Linked DNA regions of Homo sapiens: regions 1 and 3 are each linked to region 2. Evidence: promoter capture Hi-C in human tissues and cell types (Jung and others, 2019). All regions are on one chromosome and are shown on one strand. Each heading gives the region's core, a stretch centred on a gene start or on the middle of the fragment in contact. The rest is flanking DNA. Distances are from core to core; before and after follow the strand shown.

Evidence for each region. Contacts are between HindIII fragments. The study calls those that stand out against the background at their distance.
Region 1: a contact is called between the fragment with the promoter of PEX12 here and the fragment with the promoter of TMEM132E in region 2, in 2 of the 25 tissues and cell types used here (IMR-90 fibroblasts and dorsolateral prefrontal cortex).
Region 3: a contact is called between the fragment with the promoter of NLE1 here and the fragment with the promoter of TMEM132E in region 2, in 2 of the 25 tissues and cell types used here (IMR-90 fibroblasts and spleen).

What each region holds. Positions count from the first base shown.
Region 1 is chr17:35,577,321-35,580,020 of GRCh38, forward strand. It overlaps PEX12 (peroxisomal biogenesis factor 12), which reads right to left and starts at 1,251. Exons shown (of 3, transcript NM_000286.3): 1 at 576-1,251; 2 at 1-271. The coding sequence starts at 701. RefSeq lists an enhancer at 515-1,330. The HindIII fragment of the contact is 4,748 bases long and covers 1-2,700 here.
Region 2 is chr17:34,578,224-34,581,014 of GRCh38, forward strand. TMEM132E (transmembrane protein 132E) reads left to right here and starts at 1,359. Exons shown (of 9, transcript NM_001304438.2): 1 at 1,359-2,791. TMEM132E-DT (TMEM132E divergent transcript) reads right to left here and starts at 1,146. Exons shown (of 2, transcript NR_160787.1): 1 at 648-1,146. RefSeq lists enhancers at 311-847, 848-1,383. The HindIII fragment of the contact is 28,166 bases long and covers 1-2,791 here.
Region 3 is chr17:35,141,015-35,143,912 of GRCh38, forward strand. NLE1 (notchless homolog 1) reads right to left here and starts at 1,289. Exons shown (of 13, transcript NM_018096.5): 1 at 1,244-1,289; 2 at 965-1,108. The coding sequence starts at 1,261. RefSeq lists an enhancer at 720-1,597. The HindIII fragment of the contact is 6,679 bases long and covers 1-2,898 here.

The sequences.
Region 1 (2,700 bases), core at 1-2,500, 1.0 Mb after region 2:
GCTTCTCCAGCTTCACTTTCAGATAGGGAAGAAGAACCAGGAACATAATAGATTTCCAAAGCTGCTGCTTTGGGAGACCAGCACTAGCCAATCTCTGAGACTTGTGAGTGTCCCCCATTACAATTCTCTTTAAGCCGTAAAAGTTTTCAGAAAATGAGGCACTGGTTCTAGACAGATAATGTTGCTGGAGCAGAAGATCTAGCAGAGTAAAGATTTCATCAAACCACCTCCACAAGAAGCCATAGTGGGTGGGATTTGATTCTGCAAGAACCTAAAGCAAAATAAAGCAATAAGTGAAATTCATTCCATTACACAAGTTCTACACCTATTTACATTCCCCCTTTTCCTCTAAAGTCTACACAATTTGTTTTAAATAAGTCACTGTTGGACCCTGAAATGCTGGGTATTCAGTACAGGTCTCTACACATAACAGAGACTCAGTAACTCTTAAGTCATGGGATACAAGTTATTTGCAAATTGGCTATTTCAAACGCTAGGCTACCAAATAAGCACAAATTATTCGTTTGTTTTTTACCCAGTTGTCCCTAAAACCTTTCCAAGAATTAATACCTTACCTTGACCACATGCTGAAGAGCGGGTCTCACTGCTGTCATTAAACTGTCCTGTGCTACCACCTCAAAGATGGATGGCTGGTCATCGGCCACAGAAGCAGCTGTGAAGTGAGCCCCGTGCTCAGCCATAGTTTCCTGCGTGTACTGGCTTTCACTTTTCCCACAAACTCTCTCGTGAGCATGAACTTTTTCGGGAGGAAGAGTATCAGATGGGTGCTCAGTCTTAAAGGTAAACTTTCTGCATGATATCTGAAACTCGAAACTCAATCTTATGGGCAAAAATGAACTGGGAAAAAAAGACCTGGAGGCCGAGGGTAGTCTCAAGAAGGTTAAGAACAAAGTTAACTCGGACGTGGGTGGAAGTAGTATGTGGCGAGGGGGTAACTTGTCAAATGCTGCACGTCAGGGCAGAGCGTGACTGTGGGGGACAGGTATGGGGGAAGGAACGCAATCCTCTGGAGCTGCGAACCAGAAACGCCCCCTCCTCCCCAATCGTGAGAGCTCAAAAGCCAGCCGACTCTGAGGATTCAGTCGTGCCACTGTGAGCCCGGGACACAAGGGCTGACTCCAGCTGTTGGCTTTGAGTATCCCCGCCCGCGCCCGTCCTTGCTCGCTGACCCCAGGCGAGGCGCAAACAACCCACGACGCCACGTTTGAAGGGAGGTCTCCGCTTTATGACAGAAGCCGCACCCGGAAATGAAACCACCAGGACCTCTGGGATGCCTGGCGGAAGAGAGGCGCTCTAGTTCCGAATGCGGTCCGGAAACCAGAACTAGAGAACTCTATGACCCACCTGAGCTTCCGCTCCCGCCCCGCTGAAACAGAAGAGGGCCCTTGTGGGCTGGTTTTGGCTAGTTTGGTTTACTTTTCGTAGCTGGGTCTGCATGGTAGCCTCGCTGGAAAGCTACAGCTCTGAACCTCTCTCTGCGAGGTCTTTTTGACAAGCTGTTTGGGGCACCGCGCAGACGTCTGGCGCCGGGAGCCAGAGCTCGGGCCCGTTGCTGAGCCCTGTGTTCCTGCAGGCGATGAAGCTAGGGGCGGTGGGAGGAAGGGAATCTGGAGGTGGAAAGGACTTTGCTGTACGCGTGCGGCAGGGATGGTGGTTAATTTATATGTCTTAGCCTTCCAGAAATGATTTAAAGCGACATAGCAGGAGATAGGAGCCTTAGATTTATTGCCGCCAATTATAAGGAAAGATGATTGGATTGAGAAAGGTTCATGCTTGTTCCTCAGTACTTGAGACGGTTAATTTTCATCCAAGCTGGTAGTTTAACGTCTTCCAGGTTTTGGCTATATTCAAGCATAACTGCATGCACTTGCTATACTGGATGAAAATGGTCTCCATCCTTGAACACAGTTGTATATGTCACCACCAGCGATATGAATACAGTACTAACGCAGAGGGAGCTTTATGAATTGTAACTAGCATGCACTGGGGACACTTGACAGAAAGTTTCCTTTCATGCCGTTTTTATACCAAAATGAATGTGATTTACCTTAAGGTTTGTAAAGTGCTTTTATGTTATGTACAGCTTTGTCTCGCTGAAGTTGGCTGACACAGCCTTATTGAATTTGGATGAGAGTTCCACCTCTCCTCCCTTCCTCTGGGAAGTGCCACCTCTGGGCTAAATAGCTGGGAATAGAAGGTATTGTTTACTGCCCTAGAGGCCCTTATGTTATAAAAATAATTGGTTTGCATAATGAGAACCCTCAAAAACAAGGTTTGGATTTAGTTATTCCAATAGGAGAGAAAACCTTACAAATTGTCCTTAATTATAGTTATAAAAAGTGTTTTTTACTCTACCAAAAGACATTATATTGATATATGATTTTTACCTTACAGAGTTTTAAGACTAGACATAGTTTATCCATATGAAGCACCTGGATACATATTAGGTGCTTGTTTAATAGTAACTGTTATGTACAAGCTTTTCTTAAGTGAATAGCAAAAATACAAAGTTGAGAGGTAGCATCAACTAAATCAAGCAGGAAATTAAACATTTTTGTCACTTAGGGATCTTTGGTTACAAGCAACAGAAACAAACAGGCTAATTTAAACTAAAACGGAATTTATTAGAAGTGTATGGAGTAGCTCACAAAATAAGTAAAGCCAGCCCTGAAAGAACAG
Region 2 (2,791 bases), core at 109-2,608:
CTCCCCCCAGCTCCAGACAGATGTAGGGGTGGGGGAAGGGCCAGAGCAGCCCTCTACAGGCCCCAGTACCAAGCGAGGCAGCAACAGCCAGCAGCCAGGGAGGAGGAAGCCTTCCATGAAAAATGCAAGCACATTTTCCAAAAACAAAATGTCACCGTCCTAGATGAAAGGAAACTCTCAGGGTCAAGAGGGCTAGCATGGAGTCAGGCAGATGGAGGGCACGGTTTGAGTGCCCCAGCTGGCTTTGCTCTGACCTGGCCCCACACTCTCACTCCAGTTGAGTGCAGAGGTATGGAAGGGTGACCCTCAAGATCCATATCCTCCCCAGTAGGGATATGTCCATGGGATTGAAGACCCTGTCCCTCCAGAGCAGGGTAGGATTGAAATTCACCCTCTGGGGATTGGAGTTGATACCCAACGAAGCTATAAAATCATTGCCATGGATCCGATGCCTGGTTGACAGATGAGGTGTGAAGGTTGACTTGCCGGGTCTGATCTAGGTTGCACTCTAATGGAAAGGGCCTGATGGTGGGAACAGATATCACTCCAGCCACCCCTCCCGCTAGTCAGCAGGTGCCTGGGTGAGTATGCAAGAGGGGCAGTTCCCCACCCCCACCTCATGCCTCTTTAAAGGCTTGCTAAACAACCTGTAGGAAAGCACTGTCCCCTCCTCTTCTCCGTCTTCCTTCCCCAGCAACAGAATAAATAGGTTTCCCACAGCTGCGCCCCGGACCCATCCCGCACGAAGCTGAGCCCCAGAGCCCCCGCGGCCCGAGAGGAGCTGGGCACAGCAGCGAGGCTGATTCCCAGCCAGTGCCCAGCGAACTCTGGGGGTGGGGGTAGGGTGCCCCCTACCCGCGCCTCTGGAAGAGCGGCTGCAAAACACCTCCGGCGCCCGGTGGGGAGCGTGCATCCTTTGAAAAGGGACATCAGTGACTGCGGTGGCGTCTACCCTGGAGAAACGCAGCTGAGGGAGGTGGAGGCTCCTCCCGCCGCAGCTGGCCGGCCCCATTCGGGTCCCAGCGCTAGCCGGCGTTGGGAAGGAAAAATCAAACATAAAATAGGGGCGAGCGGAATCGCGAGGTCGGCCCTTGGCCCGAGTCTCATTAAGGAGCCGCGCGCGCCGCCAGGCTAGGAATGCGGAATGGACACGTGGACAGAGGAGGGGGAGCTAGGAGTCGGGGAGTCTCCGTGGCGCGCGAGCTGTGGGCCGCGCGCTCGGGGGCCACGTGACCACGGGGAATCTGGGAGGGGTGGGAGTGAGCGCGCCAAGCTCGGCGCCCGCTTCTGCCCGGGTGGGCGCTGAATCCCGGACGGAGGAGGAGGGCGGGCGAGCGCGAGTGTGTGTGTCTCTCTCGAGTCATTTACGGCGGAGCAGCCGGCGCGAGCGCCGAGGAGGCGGCGACGGCGGCGGCGGCTGCTTCGTGCAACTGTGGCTTCCCCCACCTCCTCTTCCTTTTTGCTCCTCGATTCTTCTTCTTCCCCCACACACGTCCATGGGGAGCCGGCTCCCCTGCCAGCACCTCCTCTCCTCTCGGCCCCGTAGGCACCAGCTGCCGCTTCCCTGGCCGCAAGCTGCGCAGGTGCCGGCTGCCCTGGCCCCTGGCGCCGCGCCCGCGTCTCACCGCCCGCAGCCCGGACTGGCGCGGCGATCCGCTCGCCCAAACTGACTCGGAGGGAGCGGGAGCCGATGCCCGGCAGCATCGAGACAGCGGGCGAACGGGCGTCCGGGGACAGGGTGGGGGCGGCGGGGAGGAGGCGTCGGAGACTCTGAACCCCAGAAAAGTTCAAGGTTTGTGCAGGTTCCCCCAGGGAAGGCGAGGAGCGAGGCGGGGCAGCGCGCCTCTCTGCCGAGACAGCGAGACCTTAGCGGGGTGGCCCGGAGCTGCCGTGAGCTGCAGGAGCCCCTCTGCATCTTACAGCGTTTATGGTCATCAAGCTGGAGTCGACGTCCTGGGCAGGAAGGGCTCGGGGCAGGGCGCATTAGCCGGCTTTCTCGCTCCCTCGCTTCTCCAAGCCCCATCTACATGGGGCAGCCCGTTCTGGCCGCGCCACCCTTGCCCCAGCCGCCGAGCGGCTGCCTGGGCAGGAGGCGCTGAGCCGGCCTGTGTGGAGCCTGGGCCCTGATCCAGACTGGAGAAAGCGCGCTGGAGCGGAGGAGCGAGCCTTGCGAGGGGACAAACATCTGGCCGCCCGCCTCGGGCATCCGGTCTGGGCGTCGCCTAGGGTGGTGGCGACCGGCGTCGCCAGTTTCAGCACCGCACGGAAACTTTTCCTTCTCCAGATGGATTAAAGTTGTCTGGATTTTCTCTTTCTTTGAGAAAGACAGCATTCATTTGCACCTGACCTGGGATTTTTATGCTGGGCTGCTGCAGGGGCTTGGAGGAAGAAAGCGGCGCTATCCATGTGCGGTTACTACCGAAACCGAGGAAACTGGGGATTGCGTTGGAAGTCGGCACCCTCGAGTGAGTTCGGATTCGAGCTGGGCCGTGAGGCCGGGAGATTCAGCACTGGGCTCTAGGTAGCCCCCGGGACGCCCGCGGCCACCGGGCTCCGGACTGCACGTGCAGCTCCCCCCGCGCCTCGCAGATCCTGCAGGGGGCACCAGCTGGGGGAGGTGGAGGCTCCTCCCGCCCGGAGCTGCGCCCCCACCGGCTCCGAGGGTGTAGCCGCCAGCGCCTGGGACGCCCCCTCCCCGCAAAGTGTCCCCGAATTGCACTCTCTGGTCCCGGAGCTGCATCTGAGACAGCCGGGCGCCACGGCAGCCCTGAGTTGGATGTGACCAAGCCCA
Region 3 (2,898 bases), core at 39-2,538, 560 kb after region 2:
TAATTCAGGTTCTTTACGTCCAAGATAGGATTAGCATATAGCATTATGCAGTGTTTCCCAAACTACCACACTACACTATATTTGTGTAAAAAGCTCCCAAAACGCCTGTTAAAAAATGTAGACTTTCTGCTTCATCCCAGAGTTTGGTTTAGTAAGGCTGGGATGGGGTCCAGGAACTGCAATTTTAAGGACCTCCCCTGTCCCCAGGGCAGCTCTTCAGTAAACACACTGGCTTAAAGGTTAAAAGCAAAGGCCGGGTGCGGTGGCTCACGCCAGTAATCCCCAGCACTTTGGAGGCCAAGGCGGGAGGATCACGAGGTCAAGAGATCGAGACCATCCTGGCCAACGTGGTGAAACCCAGTCCCCACTAAAAATACAAAAATTAGCTGGGTGTGGTGGCGCGCGCCTGTAGTCCCAGCTACTCGGGAGGCTGAGGCAGGAGAATCGCTTGAACCTGGGAGGCAGAGATTGCAGTGAGCAGAGATCACGCCACTACACTCCAGCTTGCCAGCCTGGCGACAAAGTGAGACTCCGTCTCAAAAAAAAAAAAAAAAAAGGTAAATAAATAAATAAATAAAAGCATGGGTATTCGGATAGTTTTGGGTTCCAATTCCAAATCTGCTACCTACTACATAGCATCGTGCAAAATACTGAGTCCCTCCGGGCCACGCTGTAAAATGGGGATATTAACGTGTCCCAGACTGGGGGACTGTGACAAAGAATCAATGAAATACAGCATCCGGTGCGTTCAAAGCTAGGCCCCTCTCCGCAGGTGGACCCCTTTGGTTGGCGTGTAAAGCGCTATGCCACTGATTCCATCTCTGACATAGGTGGGAGCTCACGCCAGGTGGGTCACCACAGTCCGTTAGCGGGGGACCATGAACCGCAGACCCTCGGTAATATGATTCCCCCACCGCATCCGCCCGGGGGTGGAGATGCGAGGCCGCCCTGGCCAGCCACTTACCTGGGCCAGTAGCGCGTTGCACACGAGCTGCAGCCTGTCCGGGGTGATGTCCACGGGCACGTCGAACGGGGAACCCAGCAGCTGCCCGCCCTCATCCTGGAACTGCACTAGCAACCGCTGCACATCGCGCGCCACCGCCTCGTCCTGCGCGAGCAAGTGGGGCGGGAGTCAGTCTGGTCGCCCGCCCAGAAGGGCCCCACTTCGCCTCTCTCAGGCCTCAGGGACCCGGGCCCTAGCGCCCCGCGGCGACGCCCCCCGCCCCCATCCACGCACACCCACCGGCACTGCTGCCGCCATCCTGCGTCCCCACGTGGAGGAGAAAGAGCCCGGCAGACAGAGCGCCGTCTCCGTGGTCGGGCGGGGTCGCCGCCGGCCACATCGCCCTCTGCTGTTGGGGAGGAGAAGCGTCCCGCTGCGCACGGCCTCAGGGATTAGAAATGGGCTTACCTGGTGCTCCTCCCGCCCCTCAACAGCCTTCACATTTATTTTTCGCCAGGGTCTTAGAGGACACAGTAAACTTTTGACTCTTCACAACAGGGATTCTTGCCCCATTTTAATTTAATTTCATTTTGAGACAGAGTTTCACTCCGTCGCCCAGACTGGAGGGCAGTGGTGCCACCACGGCTCACTGCAGTCTCGAACTTTCTGGCACAGCGATCCTCCCACCTCAGCCTCAGAGTAGCCTGGACTACAGGCACATGACACCCTGCCCGGTTATTTTTTTCTCATTTTTTGTAGAGACGAGGTCTCACTATGTTGCCCAGGCTGGTCTCAAACTCCTGAACTCAAGCAGCAAGTCCCCCACTCCCCAGCCTCAGTGTCCCAAAGTGCTGGGATTACAGGTGTGAGCCACCACGCCTAGCCTAGAAATTAGTATCCTTTTAAAAATGGATCAAGTCAAGGCTGGGCGTGGTGGCTGACACCTGTAATCCCAGCGCTTTGGAAGGCCCAGGCGAGCAGATCACTTGAGTCCAGGAGTTCGAGACCAGCCTGGCCAACATGGTGAAACCAGGTCTCTACTAAAAATACAAAAAAATTAACCAGCCGTGGTGGCATGCGCCTGTGGTCATAGCTACTGGAGAGGCTGAGGTGGTAGATTCTCTTGAACCTGGGAGGCAGAGGTTGCAGTGAGCCGAGCTCTCACCACTGCACTCCAGCCTGGATGACAGAGCAAGACTCTGTCTCAATAAATAAATAAATAAATAAATAAATAAATAAATAAATAAATAAATAAAATGGATCAACTCAATAATACTCGAGTACAAAAGCAAATCATTTCTACAATCATCAATGCTGTAAAGCAATAATAGTGATAATGACATCAACAAGTCAGGAATTGTTCTAAGTGCTTTCCCACATAACTCATTTAATTCTTACAACCCTTTTCTCCCCATATTACTGAGGAACTGAAGCAGACAGCAATGAACTTGAGCTCTTTTGCCTGAAACGAAGGATCTCCCTTGCCAACTCTCCTCTCTCTCCCTCCACTGCTCAGGCAGTCTCAAGCTCTGCCAAGTCATCCTCATGAACACAGCTTGAATCTGCTCTCCCCATCTCCACTGCCTCACTCTGGTCAGAGTCACCATCATCACCTGCCTGGACCGCTACAACAGCCTCCCGATGAGCCCCCCCATTTCCATTCCTGCCTCTTTCTACCCATTCTCCACGATGCAGCCAGGGTTATCTTTTCAGACCAAAAATCTGGCCTGCTGCTCTTCACCCTCAAACCCTGCGACGGCTCCCTTACATGCAGGAAAAAAAGAACACTCCTTATAATGGTCAATTCAGCCTTGCTATGTCCAGCCACCCCTCTCTTTAGGTTAAATCTTGCTGGCTTTTTCTGAGTTCTTACAAGGCATGGCTCTTCCTGCATCAGTGATTTTGCCCATGCAGTTTTTTCTGTCTGGAACTGTTATGGAGTGAATTGTGCCCTT